Regions from separate parts of the Homo sapiens genome. Here region 1 is linked to region 2. The links are contacts of gene promoters, found by promoter capture Hi-C in blood cells and fetal thymus (Javierre and others, 2016). All regions are on one chromosome and are shown on one strand. The core of a region is centred on a gene start or on the middle of the fragment in contact, and the rest is flanking DNA. Distances in the headings are between cores, read along the strand shown. Region 1 has its middle 100 kb from the start of LINC00278. Region 2 holds the start of SRY (sex determining region Y).

The links. Contacts are between HindIII fragments. The CHiCAGO score rates a contact against its expected background, and 5 or more counts as called.
Region 1: a fragment that was not itself captured here is called in contact with the fragment with the promoter of SRY in region 2 in 5 of 17 cell types (M0 macrophages, non-activated CD4 T cells, M2 macrophages and 2 more); the score reaches 8.5 in M0 macrophages.

What each region holds. Positions count from the first base shown.
Region 1 is chrY:3,104,118-3,111,427 of GRCh38, reverse strand. No RefSeq gene overlaps it. Among named protein-coding and RNA genes, the nearest start is that of LINC00278, 100 kb to the right of the region's middle. The HindIII fragment of the contact is 162 bases long and covers 5,619-5,780 here.
Region 2 is chrY:2,781,840-2,788,973 of GRCh38, reverse strand. SRY (sex determining region Y) reads left to right here and starts at 1,292. Exons shown (of 1, transcript NM_003140.3): 1 at 1,292-2,119. The coding sequence starts at 1,371. The coding sequence ends at 1,985. It also overlaps the pseudogene RNU6-1334P. RefSeq lists promoters at 961-1,274, 1-1,274, 1-1,370. The HindIII fragment of the contact is 2,145 bases long and covers 966-3,110 here.

The sequences.
Region 1 (7,310 bases), core at 4,450-6,949, 320 kb before region 2:
TCTGATTTTTATGTTTTAAATGTATATCTGTCTTCACAACTATTGAAGCATAATTAAACTTTTGAAAAAATGTACTTACCAATGAAACAGAACAGGATGTTTTAAAAGTTAAAATGACACTCCAGCCTGGGCGACAAGAACGAAACTACATCCCCCCAAAAAAAAAAAAAAAGTTAAAACAAAATAAGTAAAAGGCAGAACTTTAGAACTTTCAGAAGAAAATATAGAGATATCTTTATGCTTTTGGGAGTAGAGATGGATTTCATGAGCTAGACCCATAAGAAAATGCTGCAACTGACTATATTACATTAAATAATTATTTTTATTATAAACACCATAAAAGGAGACAAAAATGACAATTCACAAAGCGGGTGAAAATATTTGCAATATTTATCACTTAAAAAGTCATCCCTATAAATTATATAATACCTGAAAATCAAAAAGAAAGGGACAACATACATAATTTTTGGAAAAAATAACAAAAACAGGAAAAGGAGTTACATAAAATAGGAAAAAAAGGTGTCAATATATACCTGAAATAATGCTGGAACTACTACTAATTAGAGAAATGTAAATCAAATCTACAAAGAAATATTTTAGCATGTTCAAAAGTCAGCCATAAAAATTATAAGTTTTAAGATGTCAGGTACACACCTTGACACGTATAGATTAAAGGAAACTGCTATAGACTCTTCATAAAAATGTAACTTGTACAAACAACTTAGCAAACAAATTGGAATTATCTTGTAAAGCTTAAAATTGAGGAATCTTACTCTCAGGTGCATATCTCAAAAACGTGTGTCTGTTTGCAAGTGACGTGTACACAAATGGTCAGGAGACCATTTGTATAACAATCAAAACCTGAAAACAACCCAAATGATGATCAATCAGAGAATACATAAATACATTGTAGTACGTGCACACAATGAATTTTACTACCACAGTAATATTAATGGGGCTCATGCATCAATCTAGATAAATGTTAGAAGCACAATTAAAACCACAAATCATAAAATTGTATACAATTTTAAAATGGTAAGCTGAAGTAAATTTTCCAAAATAAGGTCCACAGATTCATCTATAAAGTGAGAATATATACAAAATTTTGGATAGTCATTATTTTAACAATAAGAGGCATGGCTAGAACCATGTAAGCTTAGAAACTTGCATGTTATTGTTGTATAGGAATGCTACTGATTTTTGCACATTGATTTTGCATCCTGACACTTTGATGAAGTTGTTTATCAGATCAAGGAGTTCTTGGGCAGAGACTATGGGACTTTCAAGGTATAGAATTATATCATTGGTAAAAAGGGATAGTACGACTTTTTCTCTTCCTATTTGGATGGCTTTTCTTTCTTTCTCTTGCCTGAATGCTCTGACCTGGACATCCAGTATTATGGTAAATAGGAGTGGTGAGATTGGGCATCCTCGTCTTGTTCCGGTTTTCATGGGGAGTGCTTCTAGCCTTTGCCCATTCAGTACGATGTTTGCTATAGGCTTGTCATAGACGGTTCTTATTATTTTAGAGTATGTTTCTTCAATGCCCAGTTTGTTGAGGGTTGTTAACATGAAGAGACGTTAAATTTTGTCAAAAGTCTTTACTGCATCTGTGGAGATAATCATGTGATTTTTGTTTTTTTAGTACTGCTTATGTGGTGAATATCATTTATTGATTTGCATATGTTGAACAAACCATGCATCCTAGGGATAAAGCTTACTTGATTATGGTGGATTAGCTTTTTTATGTGCTGCTGGATTTGGTTTGCTAGTATTCTGCCGAGGATTTTTGCATCAATGTTCATCAAGGATATTTGCCTGAAGTTTTCTTTTTTTGCCGTGTCTCTACCAGGTTTTGGTATCAGGATGATGCTGGTCTCAAAGAATGAGTTAGGGAGGAGTATGTCGTTCTCAATTTTTTGGAATAGTTTTAGTAGAAATGGTACCAGTTTATTTACATACACACACACACACACACACACACAGATATACACATCTTGTAGAATTATGCTGTGAATCCATCTGGTCCTGAGCATTTTCTTGTTGATAGGCTTTTTACTACTGATTCAATTTTGGAAATAATTATTGATTTGCTCAGGGATTCAATTATTTCCTGCTTCAATCTTGAGAAGTCGTAGGGTTCCAGGAATTTATCCATTTCTTCTAAGTTTTCTAGTTTGTGTGCATAGAGGTGTTCACAGTAGTGTCAGGGTTTTTTGGGTTTGTTTTTGTTTTTGTTTTTGTTTTGTATTTCTGTGGGGTCAGTGATAATGTCCCCTTTGTCATTTCTGACTGCATTTGTTTTAATATTTCTCTATTTATTTATTAGTCTAGCTAGCAGCCTATTTTATTAATTCTTTCAAAGAACCAACTCCTAGATTCGTTGATTTGTTGGTGTGGTTTTTGTGTCTTAATTTTCTTCAGTTCAGCTCTGATTTTGAGAATTTCTGGTCTTCTGTTAGCTTTGGGGTTGGTTTGCTCTCATTTCTCTAGTTCCTCAAATGGTGATGCTCGGTTGCTCATCTGATATCTTTCTAACTTTTTGATGTGGGCATTTAGTGTCATAAACTTCCTTCTTAACACTGCTTAGCGGGGTCCCAGGGATTCTGGTATGTTGTACCTTTGCGTTAGTTTCAAAGAACTTCTTGGTTTCTCCTTTAATTTCATTATTTATCCAAAAGTCATTTAGGAGCATGTTGTTTAATTTCCATGTAATTGGGTAGTTTTTAGTGATTTTTTTTTCAGGCTTGACTTCTATTTTTATTGCACTGTGATCCAAGAGTCTGTTTGGTATAATTTCAGTTATTTTGCATTTGCTGAATATTGTTTTATGCCCAATTATGTGGTCAATTTTTGAGTATGTGCCACGTGGCAATGAGAAGAATGTATATCCTGGTTTCGGCTAGAGAGTTCTGTAAAGGTCTATCAGATCCATTTTGTCCATTGTTGAGTTTAGGTCTTGAATATCTTTGTTAATTTTTTGCTTCTATGATCTGTGTAATACTATCAGTAGAATGTTGAAGTCTCTCACTATTATTGTGTCGTAGTCTAAGTTTGTAGGTCTCTAAGAACTTGCTTTATGAATCTGGGCGCCACTGTTTTGGGTGCATATATATTTAGGATAGTTAGGCCTTCTTGTTGAATTGAGCCCTTTAGTGCTATGTAAGACTCTCCTTTGTCTTTTTTGATCTTTGTGGGTTTACAGTCTGTTTTATCTGAAATTAGGATTGCAACCCCTGCTTTTTTCTGTTTCCCATTTTCATTCTCCCCAGCAAAGCTTTTGGACTGGAAAACTGACCTAATTTCTGACTGTTCCCTCCCAGTGTCACTTGTCCACATTATGCCATGCTCTCTGGCAGCTGTGTTTCCATACAGCTCTTATGGAAATTACATTTAGTTTTTTAAAATATAAAATAGAATAGAAAATATAAGTGAGGCTAGAGCTGCATTTGAGTAAATGTTTTTATCTACACAATTCATATTACAGTGCAGGAAAATTCAATGGCCTATCACATAATAAAGTTAACAAATTTAACTGAATCATCCAGATAATTCTGGGTAAGGTATTTGTCTCTTATCTTCAAATGCTACTAAAAAGTAGAAATAACTATTATACTTTTAACTAATAAATTTAAAAATTATAAATGACTGAAATTTGGGTAAAAGGAACTTTTGCATCTCACATGTAATGATCTAGGAGGATAGTGCAATGTATGTATCACAATGAAGGGCATTCTGTGCAAAAATTAAGAGAAATGAATGGGAGAGTCTACCATCCCCACTTTCTTTCAGGGGGAATATATAATGAGCTGAATAAATCTTAAGAGATCATATACAATCTTAATATCACAGATTGGATGGAATGATAAGGTGACCAAGGTGTTGCTGTGTGCTGTGTGTGAAAATCTGCACTTTATTATCAAACGTCAATTGATGTACATGGTGCAAAACGAGGTGTGATTTTTCTTCCATTAGAGCAACTTAATTATGTTCATTTTTTAAAAGGTATATATATACTTTCAATACAATATTATCTGGGAGAAGCCATTCATTCAGATCTTTGTATTATTATAATATTATAGTTATAACTAATTATAATGATAACCTTTCCACATCTAGAATTATTCATTTATTTAAAATCTTAATATATGTACATTTTTCCTATGATGAGGCCACAAAAGATAATAAATGAGAAAGAATTATGCTGAGCGTAGAGCTGGAATCCTGGTGAGTACCATAAAATATAGTTTTTCTTAAAAGAAGAATCAGTCTAAACAAAGAAATTACCCCACCGCCAAGGAAAAGGGCCTTCAAATTGCCTATCCAGCAGCATTGCATAATTGCTATGAATCTTTCATTCTCCTTTATTCTGAATGGGAAATTTTTATTGTCATGATTTTGTTCCAGCCCCATTATTTTATATTTGGTGGGGTAGCAAATAAATTGTTTTGTAATTTTGTGCAACCCTGGGCCATAAAAAAATACCCAACTAATAAAATAACTGTGGTTCACTGGGTTTCACGTAAAAAAAAAAATATATTGTCCTAGATTCTGGTTTCACAGATTTATCTTTTAAAGTTATCCCTAAAAGAATATATATAAATTTTGTGCAATTTCCTATACATGTGTTATACTCCTCAATGAAAGCTGAAATTTTAAAAAGAGGAAAATTGAAAAAATTGGAATTAGAAACAAGTTAACATATATCTACAAAAATGATGCCAGTAGATCTACAGAATTATTTTAAATCTATATGCAGTGTTCAGAGGTTTTACCAAAACCACAAGAAAACAGGAATTGTTACAGTAAAATAATACAAAATAATATGGCAGGCAAATACTAATTAAAAAAGAGCTACTTTGGTTATATTAAAATCAGATAAAATAAATTTCAAGGCCCAGTGAACAAGAGATGATGGGGTTCAATTTGTCAGGAAGATATTAATATAATAGTTCTAACCTGACAGATCTGTATGATATACATTCATGCATGTACACACATACTTATATCTATGTTTATATTGATATATAGTTATAAATATATACAGATGACCTCTACTTAACTATGGTTCAACTTATGATTTTTTGCATTTGTGATGGGTTTATTGGGGTGTGACCTCATTGTAAGTCAAGGAACAGCTGAACTTATGATAGTTCAACTTAATATTTTTTTTTACTAACAATGTGTTTACTGGGGTATTAAATGCATTGTGATTTCCAAAATTTTTGAGTTATTATGAGTTTATCAGGGCATAAATCTATCATAAATCAAGGAGCATCTGTATATGTGCAAAATATGCTGAAAGTTACTACATCAGTGAGGATTTAAAAACATATCTTTCAGTAATTGATGGGTGAAACAGGTAAAAATTGTGATTAAGAATATTTGGGTAACATATAGTAAGAATGATCAAATGAGTATATATAGAACACTATACCAAAGAACTGACGAATATACAGTTTCAAGAAACAGGAAACATTCATGAAAATCAACAATATAATAGGAAATAGAGCAATTCTCAGTGGTTTTCCAATATTAATTTCATACACATAATAATATCTAACTGCAATGTTATTAATTTTTAAATAATACAAAGATAACTCACAATATCATAAGCTTGGAATTTTAAAAACACTTTTCTACATAAATTAATGCTAAATAAAAAATCCCAGTGGGGAATAAGTGATCTTTAGAATTGAAGAAAATAAAATAATATTACATATCAATAATCATGAGATGCATTTAATGCAAAAAGTGAAATATTTCTGGTAATTCAAGCTTAAATTTGAACAATTCTTACAGATTATTTTTAACTGAAGTCAATCCTGAAATTTTAAATGGAAGTACAGTCAAGGAACCAAAGGCCAAAGAGCCAAGTATAACCCAGAAGAAATAAGATACGAAAATTTGCTATAGCAGTGATTAAAATTTACTATCAAACAATTGCAATTAACACTGCATGGTGTGAGTGCAAGGATTGAAAGCTAAAAACACGTTAGAGAGTCAAGAAATAGACCTGCAAAAATATGAACACCAGATATTGTATAGAGGTAAAAGTATAGACTAGTCAGTCAGTGGCCCTGAGATAAGTATTTATCCGGAAACTATAAAGCAAGCAAAATAGTGTATCCGTCATGACATATGCAAAAGTTAATTTCCAGTATATCAGAGACTTAAATATGAAAGGCAAATTTAAATAATTTTTTCAGGAATATAAATGGAGGTATTTTTCTGATATATAGATAATTTTTAAGAGAAATAACATACTTAAGTAAAAGAAACTAGTAAGTATTGATAAGTTAATCTATTTTGAATTGTGGACTTTTCATCATCAAAAGACGCCATAAAAAGAATTTTCACGCTGAGAGCAGATCTTTGCAACATAAAAAACCAGTGTAGGATTAATGTCCATAACATATTAAGAAATTCATATAAACCAAAATGTCAAACCACCCAATTAAACTGCAGGCAAAAGATGCAAACAAGTATTTTATGGAAGAGAAAATCTGAATAGCAATAACATATAAAGGTGATCATCTTGTAACTGATGCAGTCATTCCATTTTGGAAACAAATAACTATTCTTTCTTTTACGATACCTAATTGTGTGCTTGCTTAAGAATTCCAAGAACTAACCCCAAGATAAAACCAAGGCTGTGAAATGTTCTTAATGGAAAAAAAATACTGAGCAGTTAATCTTCAATCTTATTAGAGGTTGGATGATGCCAGCTACACCTCTTGATGCCCATTCCTCATGACAGTCGTTGGAAAAAGACATTCTGAAATGCATAGCTAACTCCTGCACATAGTTTCCCAAGCCCTTTCCCCTTTAAAACCCCTATGTCCAGGCTGAGAAACTTGAGATGGTCTTTGCTATGCAAGTCCACCATCTCCTTGGATTGTCAGGTCCTGAATAAACCTGCTTTTCTCTTCCACCAACGCTTGCCTCTCAAGTTTTGGCTTTCAATTGGCAAACAACTGAACCTGAGTTCAGTTACAATCTCATTACTAATCAGGAAATTAAAACCACTGCGTAATACATTTACAATCTGATTTAAAGTATTACTCAATCATGTGAAGCCAAGGGAGCTATGGAAATGTAAAATGTTACAACTGTTCTAAAAAGCAAGTTAGAAATATCTTGGCAAAGCAGAATTTCCAAACAGCTGATGCTTAAACAACTCCATAACCAAATATGTACATTAAAGAATAAATATTCAAACTCATGTATGCTATAATGTACCTCAGGGGTAAACTCAGACAGATCTTCAGTTTCTATACATATTTCCTCCAAATATTGACCTCACTGAG
Region 2 (7,134 bases), core at 43-2,542:
CAGATACATGTTTTAACTTGAGCCAACTATATTTCCACTTTGTATAATGAATACTAAATTTTGTATCTTAGATACTAAACTTTAGTAGATAACTAGGATACAAATTACAGTTTTCATATTTTTCTTTTCATGGAATATAATTTTTTAAAGTTTCTGATATTAATTCATTATAACATTTACTGGACAAACCAACCACATTTGGTTCTATGAACTCTTTTCATATTTTACGGGATTTTTATTTTGTTGTCTTAGGAATTGTGGCATCATTCAGTTTTGCTGAGAGTTTATTTTTATTAATAGGTTCTGTGTACTATGCAACCTGTAGTTGTTACTCCTGTTTTGCAAATATGGCATTAAAACATTGGTGAGTGGGGGGACTTTCCTCCCATTTTATTTCAGCAAAGAAATCTTGTCATTTCTCTTCAGACTTTAAGATTTATTGAGGAGAGTTATTCACTTGTTTAGTCTGGTAAACTGTGACCTTTAAATTTTGAAGGAGGTTGAACTAAAAGGTGAAATATGATAAATTGATGGCTCTATTTGTTGTGAATGGAAATTTAATTTAGACTTGTAAAAGATTGTTTTTTAAATTGCTAATTGTGTGACAGTGAAGAGAATGACTTCAAAATATCCCACTATACAATCTGCAAAGAAAAGAATTGTGTCCCCTTTTTAGTGTAGCTTAACACTTCACTGAAACTGTTTTGAGTTCTTAGGTCATATTTTTTTTTCTCTAAACGAAACAATTACTTTTCTAAAAGTCAAATGTTAGCCATCCTAGAAGTTGGGCATAAAATACTTGTAAGTATATGCTAATATTCTGATACTTAATGCCTGTGAAAAATGTGTATAGAATTTTCAATTTTTAAATAGAAGTGAAGAAAAAGCGATAATAATTACTATAAATTCAATATGCAGTTATGTATGTATGTGTGTGGTTAAGACAATTAGGTTCTCATTAAGCTTTGTTTTTTTAAAGATAACATACACATATATTGATAATGATAAACAATTCATATAGCTTTTTGTGTCCTCTCGTTTTGTGACATAAAAGGTCAATGAAAAAATTGGCGATTAAGTCAAATTCGCATTTTTCAGGACAGCAGTAGAGCAGTCAGGGAGGCAGATCAGCAGGGCAAGTAGTCAACGTTACTGAATTACCATGTTTTGCTTGAGAATGAATACATTGTCAGGGTACTAGGGGGTAGGCTGGTTGGGCGGGGTTGAGGGGGTGTTGAGGGCGGAGAAATGCAAGTTTCATTACAAAAGTTAACGTAACAAAGAATCTGGTAGAAGTGAGTTTTGGATAGTAAAATAAGTTTCGAACTCTGGCACCTTTCAATTTTGTCGCACTCTCCTTGTTTTTGACAATGCAATCATATGCTTCTGCTATGTTAAGCGTATTCAACAGCGATGATTACAGTCCAGCTGTGCAAGAGAATATTCCCGCTCTCCGGAGAAGCTCTTCCTTCCTTTGCACTGAAAGCTGTAACTCTAAGTATCAGTGTGAAACGGGAGAAAACAGTAAAGGCAACGTCCAGGATAGAGTGAAGCGACCCATGAACGCATTCATCGTGTGGTCTCGCGATCAGAGGCGCAAGATGGCTCTAGAGAATCCCAGAATGCGAAACTCAGAGATCAGCAAGCAGCTGGGATACCAGTGGAAAATGCTTACTGAAGCCGAAAAATGGCCATTCTTCCAGGAGGCACAGAAATTACAGGCCATGCACAGAGAGAAATACCCGAATTATAAGTATCGACCTCGTCGGAAGGCGAAGATGCTGCCGAAGAATTGCAGTTTGCTTCCCGCAGATCCCGCTTCGGTACTCTGCAGCGAAGTGCAACTGGACAACAGGTTGTACAGGGATGACTGTACGAAAGCCACACACTCAAGAATGGAGCACCAGCTAGGCCACTTACCGCCCATCAACGCAGCCAGCTCACCGCAGCAACGGGACCGCTACAGCCACTGGACAAAGCTGTAGGACAATCGGGTAACATTGGCTACAAAGACCTACCTAGATGCTCCTTTTTACGATAACTTACAGCCCTCACTTTCTTATGTTTAGTTTCAATATTGTTTTCTTTTCTCTGGCTAATAAAGGCCTTATTCATTTCAGTTTTACTGGTATTTCATTTTAAACTTAATTTCAAGACAAGTTGTGTCAACACGATTAACATGCAAAGAAATAAGACATCCAGAAGTGAGCCTGCCTATGTTTGTGGCCGTCAGAGTACTAACTTGATACAAACGGACACTGTGGCTTACTTTAAATGCTCTAATGAGAAACACACTTGAAAATTGTACCAAAAAAAATCACACTTCTATATGCAGCGTGTTAAGCAGTCCTCTCTAGACCGTGTATTCATTGGTCTTTCAGCTACTTTGTACGTGTCTATAAATTGCAGGTAACTAAGGAATGGATATGTAAGCAGGATCAAACTTGTTTCTTTCTCTCCCCTTCACGCTGTGGAAAAAACCAGTTTTACCTCCACTTGCAATTCAGTTCCTTTACTCCATATAAATCCAAACGGTTGACATTTCCTTTCAACTAGTTATAAAATGCCTCTGGTAAAACAAAATATTTAATTCCTTGTCATTTTTGTATCTCTATGAAACTTATCATTTTGCCTTTCTTCTGAAAACTATCTTTTAAAATGGCAATCTACTTGTTTCCATGGCCTATTAACTTTTAAGCCTGTGGAATGAAAAATACAGAATTTTCATTCTCAACAGGAATGTTGAGAACGCCGACTACCCAGATTATGGAGATGGAAGGGCGGGGGCTGGTGACCCAACTGGTTTAATTTGATGGGATTTAAATAAAAATGTAATGCCAAGACTTCATAAAATTTGCACATAAGCTAAAGCAGGAAACTAGAAGTTTACAAATAACTGTAAACCACAGTTTAAAGTATAAATTACAAATAAATTTTTCTACAATAAAAATAAATCAAAAGTCAAAATTAATGGTATGTATCAAAGTCAGCTTTCCAATATTTCAAAACTTTTCAGAGACATTACCTTAAATAATAAAACTCAAACACTAAAAGAGTGTATATTAGAGATGGATGTCATGTTTCTCAAAGTTCAGGGTTTAAAAAAAGCTTTATTCCAGAGACAATATTACTTAATCTGAGCTTTATGCCAAATGAGAACTGTATATTGCCCATTACCTTTTAAACACTGACTCAAAACTACTTTGTAATATTTAAAACCACTCTTTTCACTCTCCCAAAAATAACACCCATTCTGACCTTCATTACCATACATTAATTTTCCTTTTCTTGAACCTCTGACACAGATTCTCTGTTTGACCAAACTTTAGTCAGGTTTCTGAACCTTCTCCTAGACTCGCCTGTGCACTTCCTTGCCAAACTCAGTTTTGGCAAAGAACTCTCCTAAGCCAGGTTAGCCAGACTGTACCCCCACCGCATATCTGATCACACTCAACACTTGATCGATCACCCTCAATATCTGATCAGGTTTCTCATCCTCCACCACCCTCTAGGTGATGTCTGATCAGCCTAGCCTGTCTTCAGCAAGAATCCTCCTTATCTATGATGTCTTCTCTTAGTGATTGTCCATCCATTGACCCTACTCCCTGCTCCTTGGCTATAAATCCCCACCTACCCAGCTGTGTATGTGGAGCTAAGGCCAATCTCTCCCCCAGTGCAAGACCTCATTGCTGTGCTGTTGGTCGTGAATAGTCTTCCTTATCAAGTTTGAACAAGTATCACTGAATACCATTTTTCCTTAACAATGTGAATAAATATAAATACAAAATATTATGTGGAGCTTCTTTTGCTTAATACATTTTGGTGGTTTTCAGATTATTAAAAATTATGACATCATGCATGTATACATTTTGGAAAGACTAAATCAAGCTAATGTATCTACTACCTCATATACTTCCCTTTCCTTTTGCACTGGGAACATTTAAATTGTATTCTCTTAGCAATTTTCAAGCATACAATACATTCTTATTACCTATATTCAACATGCTTTACAATAGATCTGAACTAATTGCTTCTATCTAGATGAAATATTATAATTTTTGAATAACAATACTCATCTCTTCACCTGACCCTACTAGAGGGTAGCCACAATTCTACTCCCAAAAATATGAAAGACTTCACATTTGAATACCCTCCTGGCCCAGGGACAGTGTTATTCTTCTCCATACCATTCTAATTTTAGTGTATATGCTGCCCAAACTAGAATTTTTAAGAAAAAATTGTTGTGCGTATTTCATTCTATTTTTGTTGGACAAATGAATGGACACTTACTGGTTTCAATTATTACAAACAGTGCTTTTTTATACATTCTTATACATGTACAATGGAGAACATTTATAAGAATTTCTGTGAAGCACACTCCCAGGAGAGGAATTGATACTTTATGTATGGTTTACTTAGGAATTACTGAAATGAAGCATTTTTGTATTTTTGTGATGTTTAAACAAACATCAATAAACAAACAAATTCTAACTATAAGTATCAAGTGTGCTTTGGCTGCCAATGGATGTTTGCTATATTTTAAAATGCCAACACTTAAAATACATTAAGAGGGAGCTTGGTACTGAATAAAGAACACAGGCTCTGGAAGGTAAACCCTTCAGCTTTGGCTCACTTGAGTGCCACTTACAGGCTTGAGCTTGAACAATTTACTTCGCTGTCTGAGTCTCAGTTTTTTCAATTCTGTAATAATTTTGTTAGTTGAAATGCTATTTACTAATAAAACCAACCCATGAAGAGATGTGAAGGCTACATGAATTAAGGTACACAAGCATTAAATAAGTGAGTGTATATAAGAAATACTTAGAACAGGCTGGGAGCAGTGGCTCACGCCTGTAATCCCAGCACTTTGGGAGGCCAAGGTGGGTGGATCACGAGGTCAGGAGATTGAGATCATCCTAGCTAACATGGTGAAACCCCGTCTCTACTAAAAATACAAAAAATTAGCCAGGCTTGGTGGCGGGCGCCTGTAGTCCCAGCTACTTGGGAGGCTGAGGCAGGAGAGGGCTTGAATCCAGTAGATGGAGCTTGCAGTGAGCCAAGATGGCGCCACTGCACTCCAGCCTGGGCGACAGAGCAAGACTCCATCTCAACAAAAAAAAAAAAAAAAAAAGAAAAGAAAAGAAAAAAAGAAATACTTAGAACAGACATCAGCATTAGTGAAGAATTAACTAAATATTTGCTATTATTAACCTGAAAGTAATTGCTCCATCTAAAAAATATCTTAGTGAAGAGTAATGTAGATATTCATGATTGATTAGACATTATTTCATTAGGCATTGAAGTGGGTAATGTTTTTCCCAATGTCACGATTTTACTGATGTGAAATACATTAATTTTCCATATTTGTTCCAAATCTGTTCCACAAAGATTTGTTTCTACAAGGTGTAGAAACAAAAGGTAGTTATCAGAGTTCTAGTATTTCAAGAAATTTAATTAATATTTTATTTCATATTGGACTATGTAATAATGTCAAGAGTAAAAATCTTCATGAGATATTGTGCACAGATCTTTTATTTATAGATGCATGAACTTTGGCAAATGCATATGCCTGAGTAACTATCACCCCAACTAGGTTACAAGCTATTTACATCATTCCTTCAACCCTTAAAATTTCCTGTGCCCTTTTGCAATTCCTCTGTCAATTGCATGATTTCTATCATGCAATTGAGAGATCTTTTTTTTTTTTTTTTGAGACAGAGTCTTGCTCTGTCACTCAGGATGGAGTACAGTGGCCCAATCTAGGCTCACCACAAGCTCCGCCTCCCGGTTCACGCCATTCTCCTGCCTCAGCCTCCCTAGTAGCTGGGACTACAGGCGCCCGCCACCACGCCTGGATAATTTTTTGTATTTTTAGTACAGCCAGGGTTTCACCGTGTTAGCCAGGATGGTCTCGATCTCCTGACCTCGTGATCTGCCCACCTCGACCTCTCAAAGTGCTGGGATGACAGGCGTGAGCCACCACGCCCGGCTGAGTTCAAGGCTTTATATCAACGGAGCTGTATTCTGAAGGGCATCTGGCTTCTTTCATTCAGGTTGAAATTTGCATGAATTTACCACAGTTTATGTACACTGTTGGTGGTGAACACTGGGCTATTTTGAGCTTGAGGCTTTTATTAATAAAGCTGCTATCAACAGTTGAGCTCAAGTCTCTAAGTGGACATCTGTTTTTAATGTACCTGGGCCAACATCTAGGAGTGAAATTTTCAGCTCAGTTAATTTTGTGTGTACCTTTCCAAGAATTTTCCAGGGTTTTTGTGCTATTTCACACTGCCACAGCAATGTCTGAGCTTTCCGTTGCTATACATGCTCACCAAAATTTGGAACTGTTAGTGTCTTAAATTTTAACCACAGAATGAAGGTATGTAGTTAAAATAATTAAAGTGGTTATAAAAATATACTTGATTTTCTGCTAGAACAAGTTACCCCTCATTACTCTTCTTCCTCAGAATTTCTAAGTTATAATCAGTTTTCTTAAATTTGAATATTGCTGATGTTCCTTAAAATCTCTATGCTCTTTAGAAATGACCAGAAAGTTCTGCTTTTTAGACAGAGATCACATAAAGTTGGTAGATTACAGTAAGGAAATTAACAGAACTACAAATACGTTTAGCAAAAACAACAACAAAAAAAGTTCTGGATTGCTGTTTGTTAGTTTAATAATGTTCTTCATATCTGTCCAGAAAATTTTTGTAAGTCTAAAATCTATGTAATTTGAGTTTTCCTTGTTGTCAGGTAAGAAAGTAATCCTTCCTCCTACTTTTCATTAGAGTACTACCTTTAGAAAACTAGTATTTTCCCCTCTGTTTTTTGAGGTATATGTAAATCTTTTTAAGAACTAACTAAGCCAGATGGAAGGATGGCACCCCAACAGGTCTTTCTTAATGGCCTTGAGCCTTCTCTTTGAAGTGTAAGGAGTGTTCCCAAGTCCCCTTGTCTTTCCTGAGCAAATTGAGGGTCAGGCTGCTATTTTTTTGTGGCCCAATAATGAGATGCAGATGAACTGAGAAGGAAGAGAGTTTTTATTTCTACAAGTGGTTACAGGGAGAAGGCATGTAGATAATATTACCAGACCCACTCAAAATGATAAAGTTTTATAGAGCTTATATACCTTCT